3 separate regions of the Homo sapiens genome follow, and regions 2 and 3 are each linked to region 1. The links are contacts of gene promoters, found by promoter capture Hi-C in blood cells and fetal thymus (Javierre and others, 2016). All regions are on one chromosome and are shown on one strand. Each heading gives the region's core, a stretch centred on a gene start or on the middle of the fragment in contact. The rest is flanking DNA. Distances are from core to core; before and after follow the strand shown. Region 1 holds the start of GALNT16 (polypeptide N-acetylgalactosaminyltransferase 16). Region 2 overlaps PLEKHD1 (pleckstrin homology and coiled-coil domain containing D1). Region 3 overlaps CCDC177 (coiled-coil domain containing 177).

What was found. The method cuts DNA at HindIII sites, captures the fragments that hold promoters and counts their contacts. A CHiCAGO score of 5 or more calls a contact.
Region 2: a fragment that was not itself captured here is called in contact with the fragment with the promoter of GALNT16 in region 1 in 2 of 17 cell types (M1 macrophages and M0 macrophages); the score reaches 5.6 in M1 macrophages.
Region 3: a contact is called between a fragment that was not itself captured here and the fragment with the promoter of GALNT16 in region 1, in 3 of 17 cell types (total CD8 T cells, naive B cells and naive CD8 T cells). The highest score is 6.9, in total CD8 T cells.

The regions. Positions count from the first base shown.
Region 1 is chr14:69,257,589-69,261,849 of GRCh38, forward strand. GALNT16 (polypeptide N-acetylgalactosaminyltransferase 16) reads left to right here and starts at 2,570. Exons shown (of 15, transcript NM_001168368.2): 1 at 2,570-2,879. The coding sequence starts at 2,703. GALNT16-AS1 (GALNT16 and EXD2 antisense RNA 1) reads right to left here and starts at 2,939. Exons shown (of 4, transcript NR_184249.1): 1 at 2,702-2,939. RefSeq lists a silencer at 3,616-3,675. The HindIII fragment of the contact is 12,811 bases long and covers 1-4,261 here.
Region 2 is chr14:69,523,317-69,527,935 of GRCh38, forward strand. PLEKHD1 (pleckstrin homology and coiled-coil domain containing D1) reads left to right here. Exons shown (of 13, transcript NM_001161498.2): 8 at 913-1,006; 9 at 2,628-2,806; 10 at 3,381-3,513; 11 at 3,872-4,016; 12 at 4,467-4,616. Among named protein-coding and RNA genes, the nearest start is that of PLEKHD1, 41 kb to the left of the region's middle. The HindIII fragment of the contact is 3,070 bases long and covers 1,756-4,619 here.
Region 3 is chr14:69,568,862-69,573,167 of GRCh38, forward strand. It overlaps CCDC177 (coiled-coil domain containing 177), which reads right to left. Exons shown (of 2, transcript NM_001271507.2): 2 at 938-4,306. The coding sequence ends at 2,638. Among named protein-coding and RNA genes, the nearest start is that of CCDC177, 3.9 kb to the right of the region's middle. The HindIII fragment of the contact is 521 bases long and covers 1,825-2,345 here.

The sequences.
Region 1 (4,261 bases), core at 1,320-3,819:
GGAACAACTGTGGTGAAGTCATCTAGAGAGGCTACGCTTCACTTCTGTGCAGTCTTTCTGGTGGTGGGGGCCAAGCAAACCTTCTCTCAGGGACAGAACTACCAGGAGTGACCATTTGGGGCAGATATATAGCATCCTCACCACTGAGCCCTGGGCAGTAAGTGGTGAGATGTGAGAAACCCTGCCACATTCCAGCCCATCCCACCCCTCCCTCCTTCCCCCCATGGAGCCTTCCTTTTGGAGTCACCAGAAGCCCCAACTGTCTGGTTTCAGTCAGCATGGTCCAGCTTCATCCCCGTGCCGAGGGGTGAGTTTGGAGCCTTTTACCAGGAGGTGATAGGTGATGTGATGTCTTCGAATCCCACATCCAAAGGCAACTAGAGATGCACAGACCAGGCTGGGATGAGGGGAGCAGCCTATGACAACAGGGCTACTCCCCAAGTTTTCACCTGGCTCACCTGAGAGATGTGTGAAAATGGGGGCACCAGGAGGGTAGTTCCCTTACATTTTCTTGGTTGACCTGAGAGGCCTGTGGAGCCTGATTCCCAAGGAGCAAGGTCTTTCCTGGCCTCCCACAAATGGCACCGCTGGATCTGCCCCATGATTCCTGCGGAAACCAGATGGAGGTTTGGCAGTGGTTTTCTCCATCTATGCAAACAAGCCCTGGCCCCTGGCGCAGTCTTATTAAACTCCCCAGGGGAGAGAGACCTGGGAGAGCATCTGGCGTCTCCAGACTCCTGCCCCTGTTGTGACTGCCACACCTTATGCCTGAAATTCCCTGCTACTTGTGTAGACCCTTTGTGAGGCCCTCTTTGTGCATTCTCTTCTTTCTAGGTCCCATTCCTGCGTGGGTCACTTTTGGACTTGTCTAAGTGTCATCGTAATTAGTCTTCTGAGTGAGGATATCGTATTGCAGTAATGACCCTGGGTTTTCCTCAGCAAAAACCCAACTAGGGTTTCTTCACCTCAACAGAAATGTATTGAGCATCTATTATATGTGCGGTTCAGTCTCGAGTGCTGGAGAAATGGAGAAAAGCCACCTGATTTTACTTCTATCTGTCAGGGTGGTGCTCATGGGATGCTTGTGGGGGGGCATGATGCTGTGACTTCAGTTTGCCTGATTCCCCAGATGGCTTCATTTAGAGGCTGGACCCTATGTGGGTCTTCGGAGTAGCCATGGTGTCCAGCAGTGCCAGCAGGAAGCAGACTCCTCAACAACTCTGCCCCGGCATTCAAGGACCTCCTGAGTTCAGACTCACCCAGCCTGGCCAACCTCAACTCCTATCAAATCCTAGGCCCCCTGCAACGCCTGGCAGCTCTCTCTCTTGAACACATCAAGCTCTTCCATCCTCTGGATTTTTGCAAGGCCTATTTCTGCAGTCTCTCCCCTGTCCTCACCTCCCCCTTCCTTACCTCTTAAGTGATTCATCCACCTTTCTGAGAGCTTTCCCAAAGGCCACCTTACAATAAATTATTTCTTCCTCTGTTGGATCCCTACTTTGTTGTTACACATCTATTCATTGAGCGCTCTGTGCCCGACACTGTGCTGGTTTCCTAAAACTCATCCAAGCCTCTTGCTTTCTGCCTGGAGTGAAGAGTAGTTCACGTTCTGATTCTCAGTGCCTCTAGGGCTGGAGCGGAATCTTAATGTCTGTGTCCTCGTCTCTCACCACCGCGTTTTGCACTTTGTCGAAAGGTGTCAGATGGTGAGATGGCTTCTAGACTGGGCTCTGCCCACTAATTAGCTGTGTGGCCTTGGGAGAATCATCCGGCCTCTCTTGCTGCCCTTCTTTCCGATGAAATAATGCTGACGATGATATTTCAGGGTTGTCCAGGGGTCAATGAGGCGGGATAGAGGGAAGCATCGTGAAATCTGGGAGCCCCAGGCCAGCGAAAAATGTGGAAGGGCCGTACCCGCACTCTCCTAGCACTGGGTGTGAGGCAGCGTCGTTTCCCCTTCGCGCTCTTCGAATGTCAAGTGCACCAGCTTCCAATCCCTCCTCTGGGCGGGCCCGGTCTGGCTAATCTCAGCTGCAGATTCCAGTACAAACTCAGGACTCTCCCCCGCCCAGCCGCCCCTACACAAGGACTCGCCGAACACACCTTGAATCCCGCGCCAGAGCGCAGCCCGGAACTGCAGCTCGCGGCGCGGGCCCAGGTCGGGGGTCGCGCGTCTCCAGTCGGTGACTCAAGGCCGCTCGGTCCGGGGGTGGGTGTGGGTCGGCAGGACCGACCAGGGCCGCGCGGGGGCAGCTGCCGGGCGTTCGGTCACCTAGCGGTGGGAGCCGAGGCTGGCTTTGGCCAGTCGCCATTCCGCCGCGGGCGTCTGTCTCGCCGGGTTCCCGGGCGCGGGAGGAAGGCCCGCGCCGCTTCCCACTCGGCGCGCTTCTCTCCCAGTGCGCAGTGGCCTGGTGGGTCAGCCGGCGGCGGCTGGAGCGCGGGGCCGGCCCTGCGCACGAATGAATGGGCGCCCGGGGGACGCGCGCGCTCGGGGCTGAAGGGCATTAGGACCGTGAGGATCGCTCCGCGATCCTGTCTCTCCCTATCACCCCCCCGCCCCCCCACCTCTCTCCTTTTTCTGCTCTGCAGGACTGAGCAGCTAGGCGCGAGCGAAAACAAACAGCTGGGGCTGCGAGCGCCCCCGCCCCGGCCCCGAGAGCACGCCGGCCCAGTCCCCCACCTGGGGCGCCCGTCTGCCCACCATGAGGAAGATCCGCGCCAATGCCATCGCCATCCTGACCGTAGCCTGGATCCTGGGCACTTTCTACTACTTATGGCAGGACAACCGAGCCCACGCAGCATCCTCCGGCGGCCGGGGCGCGCAGAGGGCAGGCAGGAGGTCGGAGCAGCTCCGCGAGGACCGCACCATCCCGCTCATTGTGAGTACGCCCCGAGCGTCGGCCGGCCGGCTAGGGAGCCGCGGCGCGCGTCCAGACCCTGCGCGGCGGCCGAGGGCGCGGGGCCCGGCCAGGGCTGAGTGCCCGCTGCGCCGGGCCGGCTTTGTATATGTTGGAGCATTCCTGCCCGTTGTTATGGCAACCTCTGCCGGGCGGCGGGGCTGGGGCGCACCGACTAAGGGAGGGTGACAGAGGGTGGGGGCTGGGAGAAAGTGCTGCAAGTTTGGTGGGCCCGGCGTGCGCGCGCGGCTGGGAACGTGGCGGCTCTCCCGGCTCTGCGCTGCCGGGGCCGGGAGTCTGGGGGCTGCGGGAGCCTCGTGTGCCCCGGAAGGCTGCCGGGCCCAGCGCGCGGCGAGCGGGCGGTGGGAACCACTCGCAGCCGAGCGCGTAGGTGGCAGTGCGCAGCCCCTCTCCAGCCTTCTGGGGGCAGAGGACATCGGGTGGGGGCGTGGGTAGGGGAAGGCTCTCTAGGCGCTGCGCCTGGCTTCGAACCCCCTTCTGAGCCGGGTCAACTTGAACCCGCTTCTTCGGCGCGGACACCCAGCTTCCCCGGAGTTCTCTGGGTTGAGGAGAGGTCTCGCACTGTACGCGTCTCTCACTCCCAACCTTAGGGTCCGCCACCACGGGTAGGTGGGCAGTGTCAGCGCCCGAACTTGGCGATACCCTTGCATGAAGTCAGCCTCGCGACATCTAAGCGGGCAGGGAAACAAAGGCAGTGTGGCACAGCGGGGGCGGCGGCGGGGCTGCGGGGGCCCTTGGCGCTCTGGGGACCCGGGCGGGGGCGTGCGGAGCCGCAGCCGCCCTGCAGGGGGCGATCCTGTCGCCGTCTCCGTCCGAGCCCCAGGTGACAGAGCTGTGCGTGGCCAGGCAGGGGCACCTGTTGAGGCGGGAGGCTTTGGCACCCGCCGAGAGTGCGCTCGAGCGGGCGCATTCTTCCAGACGGGGGCGGTTGGTGGACGAGAGCCTCGGACGACCCTCGGGAACTACCAGGGCGGGGCAGCCTGGCCGGATGAGGACCAGGAAGAGGAGAGCCGAGTGGGGCGGGGGTAAAGGAGTGAGGAAGCGTGGCGATTCCGACAAGGAAAGATCTGGGCCTGGGGGTGGAGGGGTGAGGAGATCCGCGGGGGAGGTGCAAGGTCCGGAGGGCTGAGGCTTGTGTGGAGCCGAATCCGAGAAACGCATCCAGACGCGGATCTGAACCCCAGGAATATCGGGAAGTTCATTGGAGAGTGTCCCCTCATATTCCCATCCTGCCCCAGATTCCGAGTCCCCTGCAAAGGAAACATTATTTCAGGGCTTTGCCTGAGGAGACCTGGGGCGGGGGGGTGAGGTTGTGGGTTTTGTCCTAGATACCAGTCTGGGTG
Region 2 (4,619 bases), core at 2,041-4,540, 270 kb after region 1:
AGTCATCATCGTCATCCTCATCCTCATCATTATCATCACCACACATGATCAGTGATAGCCCAGAAACTGTTTTCTTATAACAACCTTATCCAAGGGTGTCAATTAACTATGTATTTTGAGGAGGGAAAAACCCAGAGGATCTTACTAAGTAAATAGCCAAGCACCTACTCAGCTTCCAGAATGTTGCCAGGTATTAGAAGGAATAGAAGACAAGTCCACTCCCTTGAAGAGTGGACGTATGATCTGGTTGGGGAAACCAGACTCATACCCAGGAAACATTAGTGTAATAATATGTAATCAGGTGCTAGAAGGCATGGTGCAGATTTCCTGTGTTACGAGAATTGAGACACATGCATGATGCTTGTGGGCTTGAATACAGGGCTGAGTGAGATGGGCCTTGAAAGGTGAGTAGGATTTTGAAAATTGGGCAGGAGAAGGGAAAGACTTTCCAAGTAGGATGAGGGGACACTAGTGTAAAAGCCTAAGGTGACTGAAGCTTGTGAAGAAGGCAGCAAGGAGCTTGTTACTAACCCAAAGAGGGGCCTTAGCCATGTTCTATGTCAGAATGACCATGGGTTCTAGCAAGTGCTGTCCAGAGAAGACAGGGTGAGGCTGGGGCCCCTTTGTTTCTCCAGTGTTTCCCTCTGCCTGTGGGGTGGCCCTAGGTTTATTCCAGGTGACAGATGCATGTGTACCTGGAGCAAGTGACTCCAACCCCATGTGGCCAGGACTTACTTTCAACTCCAGGCCCCTACTGCTGCTGTCAGGGCCCAGCTGTGCAGAGGGGCTGGCCATTCAAGAGCCCTCCTGAGCCCCATCAGGAAGTGAAGCAAAAGCATTTCTAAGTGCAGAGGTGATTGGTGGGGGGTGGGGAGAGTGGGCACTGCCATACCCAGCCCTCTGTCTCCACAGGGAGCTGGAACTGACTGCAAGATGCCTTAAGGGTGTAGAACAAGAGAAAAAGGAACTGAGGCACCTCACGGAGTCCTTGCAGCAGACACTGGAGGTGAGGGGCTGCTGGTGGGTTAGTTGACCAGGTGGCAGGCTGGTTGGTTGGACCACATGACACTGTTTTTTCCAGCAGTGTTTCCCCAGGGGGTGATCTGTAAGAGAAATGGGCATGGAGGGGTGCTGATCTAAAGGGTCTCTTCTCTATGGATCATTGAAAACTCTGGCCGAGGCATGAGGCCCAAAGCAAGAAGTGTCTGTTCTCAGACCTAAAAGGACAAATTCAGGCTTGTCCTTGCTATTACCATGGCCTCAGGAAATCCACCTCTGGTGCTTACATTTTTATACCAGATAGAGGATTGGTTAAGGTGGGCAGTGGAGCTACCCACCGCTTCCTTCTTGTGTCTTGTTCGCTTAGCTGCTCCTGAGTGACATTGAACGTAAAGGGAAATCAACTGCCAGGTCACCATCATCTGATACCACAGAAACTGGGATGGGGTGGGGAGGTGACAAGCCTCAAGGACAAAGTACAAACTCCTTAGCATGGCAAGCAAGTGAAAACTCTGGCCCTGGTCTCCCCTTCCCTCTCGCCTCACTCTTCCCTTCACTGCTCCTCCATGCCCTGCACAGACTCCCAACCCCTGCTCCAAACCGCGGAGCTCAGGTACTCCAAGGAAGCAAGCTCTTTCATGCTCCATACCTTTTCCCACACTGTTCCTTCTACACAGTGTATCATTTCCACCTTTTCTCTGCTTGGAGAACTTCTATTCACCCTTCTAAGTCTCAGCTCAAATATCTCCTCAGTCAAGCTTCTCTGATTTTCAAGGCAGGTATCTACTCTGAGCTCTTGGCTCCCGTGGCATTTTGTACATATTTTATGGGACTTAACATGCTAGGTGTGTTTTCCAAACTATGAATTTCAGTAGACTGTGTCTTCATGGTCTCTCCAAGCCCATCCCCTGAAGTGGGCCTGGCACATATGGTGTATGGCCCATACCTGTGCTGTACGCATGAATTACCTTCAAGGCTGCAAAGGTTTCTTGTCTCCCTTGACTGACTGGAGCCTTGGAGCTTGTGGGGCCTTTATTCATTTATCTTTCCCTGTTTCACATCATGGGAGGTGGTTCCCATGGATATTTTCAACTCTGCTTCTGTGTAATGCCATTGAGTACAAGATCCCAGTCTGATAAATGGAGAGGACATCTTTTTTTTGGAGGTGGGGTGGGGGGTGGTTTGGGGACAGGTTCTAGCTGTGTTGCCAAGGCTGGGATGCAGTGGTGCAATCATAGCTCACTGCAGCCTCGCTCTGTTTGTGAGAGCATCTAAATATGCTCTTGGGCTGGTTCCTGTTGGGTGTTTTTCACGTAAGCCCACTATGTCTCCTCATTCACCCCTGGAGGAACCAGGACCCCAGAAGATCATGCGACCCCGTTCTAGTAGGTGCCGTCTCCACTGGAAGGCACTTTGGGTTCCTTTATGACTCTTGATGGAGGAGTAACCTTGCCCTGTTGTGGGAGAGATCTGGGCCTTTTAGCTCTGGAGAAGAATGAAGACATTTCAGCGGCCATAGAGGACTGAGAGAGGAGTGGGTCACTCCCCCAAACGGAAAAGCAGGTGAGGGCAGCCACGATGGAGAACCTAAATTGGGCTTTTCTTTTCCTTGCCTCCCTCCATGCCAGGAACTCTCCATAGAGAAGAAGAAAACCCTGGAAATGCTGGAGGAGAACGAGAACCACCTGCAGACACTGGCCAATCAGAGTGAGCAGCCCCCTCCCAGTGGGGGCCTCCATAGCAACCTCCGGCAGATCGAGGAGAAGATGCAGCAGCTCTTAGAGGAGAAGCTCCTGGCAGAGAAGCGGTGAGGGAGCCCCGACCCCTGAAGACACCATTGACTTTGGGGTCTGGGGACTTTCCTCGAACTGGACATCCAGACTCTTGGGTTCTACTTGGCACTGACCAAGTAGGACTCACTCACTTCCTTTTGCCTAGGACTCTGTTTTCCCACCAGGAAAGTGGGAAGAGAACTTTCACTACCCAAAGCTGGCTTGATAATTATCTTGTGCAATGGTGTGAACCATGCAGACTTATTAAGTCCTTGTCACCATGCTTTGTGACAGGCTGGGCAAGTTTTTAAGCCCCCTTTTACAAATGAGGAAATGGAGCCTCAGGGGGGTTGTATGACTTTTCTGAGGTCACAGAACAAGCAACCTCTGGACCCAGGACTCCAGTCTTCTGACTCTAAACCTAGGGCTCCCAGCACTGACCACACCATCAATCTCATCCCCTGGGTGCCTGGACCCACAAAGTTCAGGGGCTCATAAAGCCTGGGATTCAAGGTTTCTCCAGCCCAGGTCTCTAAGAGGAGCTGTCCATCCATTGGCAATCCCATTTGGCGAGTGAGCATTGAGAAAGTGCCTCTTCTGTCCCTACAGGATGAAGGAGAACGAGGAGCGCTCACGGGCCCTGGAGGAGGAGCGTGAGTTCTACTCCAGCCAGTCCCAGGCACTGCAGAACTCGCTGCAGGAGCTGACGGCAGAGAAGCAGCAGGCTGAGCGGGAGCTCAAGGTGCGACCTGGCCTGCTGGTGCCAGGGCCCTTCCCCTTCCCTGGAGACTCCCCTTCCACCCCTGCACTTTACCGGGTAGCTGCATGAATTATCTCTGTCAGTCTGACCAGACAGCCAGGCATGGGGGATGGAGCCACCACGAGGGGAAGCAGCAAGTCTGCTGCATCATTGACAGACACCTGCTGGGTGCAGGTGCCAAGTCCAGTCCATCTGGTTCAAAGGGTAAGACTCAGAAGCGGGATGTGATAACTCCCATCCACGCCCATTGAGCCAGGGGTGACCAAGGAAGGCTTCCAGGGAAGATGGCAGCTACTTCCAGGACCTGACTTCCTTCTCATTTCCCTCTCCTCAACCTCAGGCTGAGGTGAAGGTCCGCATGGACCTGGAGAGGCGTCTCCGGGAGGCAGAAGGGGCCTTGCGAAGCCTGGAACAGGGGCTGAATTCCAAGGTGCGGAATAAGGAGAAGGAGGAGAGGATGCGGGCTGATGTGAGCCATCTGAAAAGTAAGCCCTGCCTCTAGGCCCTGGCCCCCAGCTTTGGCACTCAGCCCCAGATGGGATCCCGGCCCTGTAGAGCCAGGAAACCCACACAGGGTCTGCTAGGCATGAGGTGCTCCCTGGATATTGAAGGGTTTCTTCTCCAGTTACCTGCCTGCAGGCATCTCAGCACCACTGCTTTCTTGTGGCTGTTGGATCTGTGGTGAGAGGAAAGCCAGGAGCTTCTTCCATTTATCAAAAGCTCAGAGCTCTGTTCTCAGCAGACGTGCCCTGAGATGGCTGCAGATTGTGGTTTGAAAGGCAAAGAAAGTCCCCTTCAGCAGGTGGCTCTGGAATCTCGAGGGACGGGGTCAAAATATTTCCCACTCAATCTCACCAGGATCCTTGGGAAGGGAGGGACTGGCTGGGGGTAAGGATGCAGTCGGAACCCCACCCTTCCTGGCCCTGCCGCCACAGGGTTCTTTGAGGAGTGCATCCGGAATGCCGAGCTGGAGGCCAAGATGCCTGTGATCATGAAGAACTCCGTGTACATCCATAAGGCAGCCACTCGCCGCATCAAGAGCTGCCGCTTCCACCGACGCCGGTCCAGCACCTCCTGGAATGACAGTG
Region 3 (4,306 bases), core at 835-3,334, 310 kb after region 1:
GTTGGGATTACAGACATGTACCACCATACCCAGCCCTGTTTTTGCCTTAATTCTACTTGGCTATGTGGATTTTTGTTTTTTGAAGAATCTAAAAGTTTCTGCGTTTACACAGTGCATCTCTCTAAGTGCAAACTTCTAATTTGGTGAGATTCAGGCCTGGGCCTTTGCAACACATGATACCATAATTTGTGCTTTTCAAGACTACTCCTTTCTGCACCAGGTCATGACAGTACATCACACTCTGTAACCACGGTACAGTTACCTGACCCTACCTGTTTATAGCAATTGCACCTTTGGTTCCAGAGTTGTAGAAGTGGGGAACCCATCTGGATTCTGATTCATTCTCACAGTGCTTGTGTGACAGACAGGGCAGAAATCATGATCCCCCATTCTACAGGTTGGGGAAACCAAGGCACAGAGAAGCAATCAACCCAAAGTCACTCAGTAAGCCAGAAAACAAACTAGGTAAAGGTCCAGGCAAGACCACCTATGTTCCTTTCAGTGCCTTATCTGAAAAATCAGATTGTCTCCTCCAATGAATGCACATACTTTGGAAGTAAGTAGTTTTAAAGCGGAATTTTCTATGGTTTCAAAAGCCCTTTACCAACTCAAGAACCACAAGGTAAGAACCAGAATCACATTAACCTTTTAGTTAAATGCTTCTGACTCATGGATAATACCAATTATTTCAACTCACTGACAACCTGGTTATCAACAAGAAGAAAATTTAAGGAAAAAATTCACCCATTCAATAAAAAAACCTCGGTAAACAGCTCCTTTCCTTGTTTCATGATATCTTGAGCCTAACACCCAAGCACTGCTTCCTTCTACAGAATACACCTTTTATATTTGTTGGCATGTGATGGAGTGGGGGTGAAGGGTTGACAAAGTGTGTGTGTATGGATGTGTGTGTAATAATCAGCCATTTCAGGGACAATTTTACCCAGCAGAATATATATGAAATATGTTTAATGTAGCAGTTCTCTACCCTGTTTCCATTTTTTTTTTTTGGTAACATTTTATTCCTGATCCTGGTTTAATGTAAAAAGTGATGTTTTACTTCCCACCTTCCTTGATGAAGGCAGAGTCAATGGGTGGATATGGCCGTGGGGCAATTTCAGCTTAATGGAAGGGAAGCACTCTAAGGGTTAAAGTTGCCTGATGACAACTGAATGTGACCTTTTGGACCACAGAGTGACCTGGTATTGCAAGTATTTCACCCCAGAGGCTAAATGACCATCTGTCCACGAGGCACTGCCCTTTCCAACACTAGGGAGCCATATTCCCAGAAAGAAACTAGGCTGACAGCAATCCTCCTGCCTCCCCCTCCAGGTCAAGAAAGGCACAAAAAGGACCAACAAATAATACTGACATGGTGCTTTGGATCCAGGAGGCCTTGCGGTACCAGGAGAGGAATACTGATGGTTCCATCTGGCGAATGGGAAAGGTGAGGCATTGAGAGGGTGAAATGCTTTCAGGCATAGGTGAGGGGGTACCAGGAAATTTAAGGGGGAGACTCTTTTTCCTGGGGGCAGGTGGAGAAGGTACACGACCACTGATAGTGAACACAACTCTCAACAAAGGCAATTCCAGCTCTTCGGCCACCACAGTAAAGCAGCCAAGGATACCCTAATTGTCCTCAGAGAAGTAGAGATGATTCCTTCACAGAGGGAATCCTACACTCCAAACTCTCTGGGGCCCACCCTTGAGACGGCATGCAGGGCTGGAGATTTAGGCAGGAACAGCCTGGGCAGGCACGTAAGGTAGCTCTGCTTCTTAAGGCATGACTGCTGTCTTCATGGAGTGGGCCCCACCCTGCAAGGAAGCTTAATGGAATGGAACACTGCTCCCAAAGGAATCCAGCCCCTCCAGGGGCTGGGGGTTTCTATTAAAGCTAAACAGCATCACCAAACCAACCAATTTCCTGTGCCACTTGGTAGAATGAGGGAGGGGGCAAAGGACAAAAATTGAACATTATCTGCAGATGACTGTCTAACTAGAAAACCCAAGGGACTAAACTGGAAAACTATCAAAACTGGTGAGAATTTGCTCAGGTGGCCGATTAAAAGGTCTAAAAAATCAACTGCTTTTTGGATCATTTGGGCGTGGCTTGACACCTTGGAGGAGCTGTGTTTCTCTGGGAGGCCTCCGCGATTTGTGCAGCTTGCCATATTTTGAAAGATGGAGGTGAGCCAGGGTGATGTTCCCTCAGCAGTAGCAACACTGTCTCAGACACCAATGTCGAACAGGTGCCTGGGGCAACTGCTGCAGAAGGGGTGGGGACAACCACCTCTGCCCTCTCCTGGGGGGCCCTCTCACCAGTCCTGATCAGCCCCTTTCCCCCAAGCTTCTCTATTCCAGCCCAAGAGACACATAGGGAAGTTTGGCAAGGGTCGGTGCGGGAGCCATCAAGGGTGGATGTGGGCAGATTGTGCTGTCATCTCCAAATGAAGTAAGTTTTAAAAACAAAGGGGGCCAGCTGACAGGTCCCAAACGTCTGTACTGTTGTTGCCTCATTGGTCAGAAGCCTCGAGAGGCCACCGCGCTGCGCACCGAGCGGGGACTCCCACGATGGTCAGTGGTTGAGGGAGGCCCCAGGGGGCTGTGCGTGCCAATCTGGCTGGCAAAGAGCCGCAGTTATTTGCGGTCCAGGCTGGCGTGTAGCTGGGCCTCCCGCACCATGCGGTCGAAGGATCGCGTGTTGGTCTCCTCGCGCACCTTCTCACGCACGTGGAAGGAAGCCCGGGCTGTGGAGCGGGCGCTCTCCAGCGCACTGCGCCGTTCCCGCGTCAGCTGCTCGCTGCGCTCCAGCTTGCGCCCGATGGCCTGGAGTAGCTCTCGCCGGCGGCAGTCTTCGTCCCTCTCCACCTTCTCCTTGTTGGCGCGCTGGGCTCGTTCCTTCTCCAGCCGGCTCTGGCCCACGCGCCGCGCCTTCTGCTGCACTGCTTCCTCGGCCACCTGCGTCGCGTGCTGCAGCCGTCGCTCCCCCGCCCGGGCCAGCGCCTCCAGGTGCGCCTGATGTTCCCGCTCTTTGCGCTCTGCCGCCTCCTTGGCCCGCCGACCCTGCAGCTCCTCTCGCCGGGCCCGCTCCCGCAGCTCCCGGGTGCGCTGCTCCACCAAATGCTCGTAGTTCTCCTGCGCACGGCCCAAACTGGCTTCCAGCGAGCTCCGCAGGCCCTCTCGCTCCTGGCGCTGCTGCCGGGTCCGACCCTGTAGCAGCGCCTCGTGGCGCGCCCGCTCGGCCCGGCTCAGCTCCCGCTTCTCCCGCTGCAGCTGGCCCTCCTGCCGCTGCTTGGCGCGGGCCGCGCGCTGGGCGCGCTCCCTGCGGATCTGCTCAGCCCGCTCCCGCCCTTCCTGTAGACCTTCCTCACGTTGCTTCAGGTTCTGCTCCTGCTGAAGCTTGCGCAGCCGATCCTCCCGGGCCGCGCGCTCCGCCCGCTCCCGCCGCAGGAGGCCCTGGCGTTCGGCCAGCTCCCGCCGCCGCTCCTCGCTGCGCTCGTACTGCCGCTGCCGCCGCCGCGCCGCCTCGCGCTCTTCGCGGCCACGGCGGCCTCGCCGCTCCTCCACCTGCGCGGCCCAGGCTCGGCGGCCCTGCTCTAGGGCGCGCTGCTTCTCCCGCTCCTCGCGCTCCCGCCGCTGCTTGGCGTGCACGCGCTGCAGCTCCCACTGGCCGTGGGCAGCCGCGCGTTGCTCCAGCAGCAGGAGCTCCTCCTGGTGCCGCGCCAGCATGAGCGCCGCGATCTTCCGGTCACGCTCCGGCACCCCGCGCAGGCCGCGCTCTGCACGCACTTGACGCACGATGCGCTCCACGTGCTGAGCGGTCTGCGGCGAATGGCTCAGGTCGCCGAGGCTGAAGCTGCGGCCGGTGATCGGAACCAGGGTCAGGGCAGACGGGCGGCCCGGAGCGTTGGTGGTGGAGGACGCCGACCCCGCTGGGCAGCTGTTCCTGGCCGAGGCCCGAGGCGGCCAGCGCAGCTCCCTCAAGCTTTCCCCACTGTAGGATGACGACGATGCGCCCGACTCGGAGCTGAGGGCGCCCTCACGCCGGCGGGACAGTGAGTCCAGCGAATGGCTCTTCCTGCCTGTTCGAGAACCCGCTGGCGGAGGTTGGGTCCGGGCGGAGGAGGGACTAGGGGAAGCCTTGCGGGCCGCACGCGGCGCGGGCGAGGCCGGGAGGCTGGCGCTGCTGCAGCTGCTGCTGCTGCCCGCGCTCGGGGCCGAGGCCGCGGCGGCGGCGGCGGCGGCGGCGGCCGCGGGGCTCAAAGGCGTGAAAAGACGCCGCTTCTCCTCGCGCATGATGCGCTCG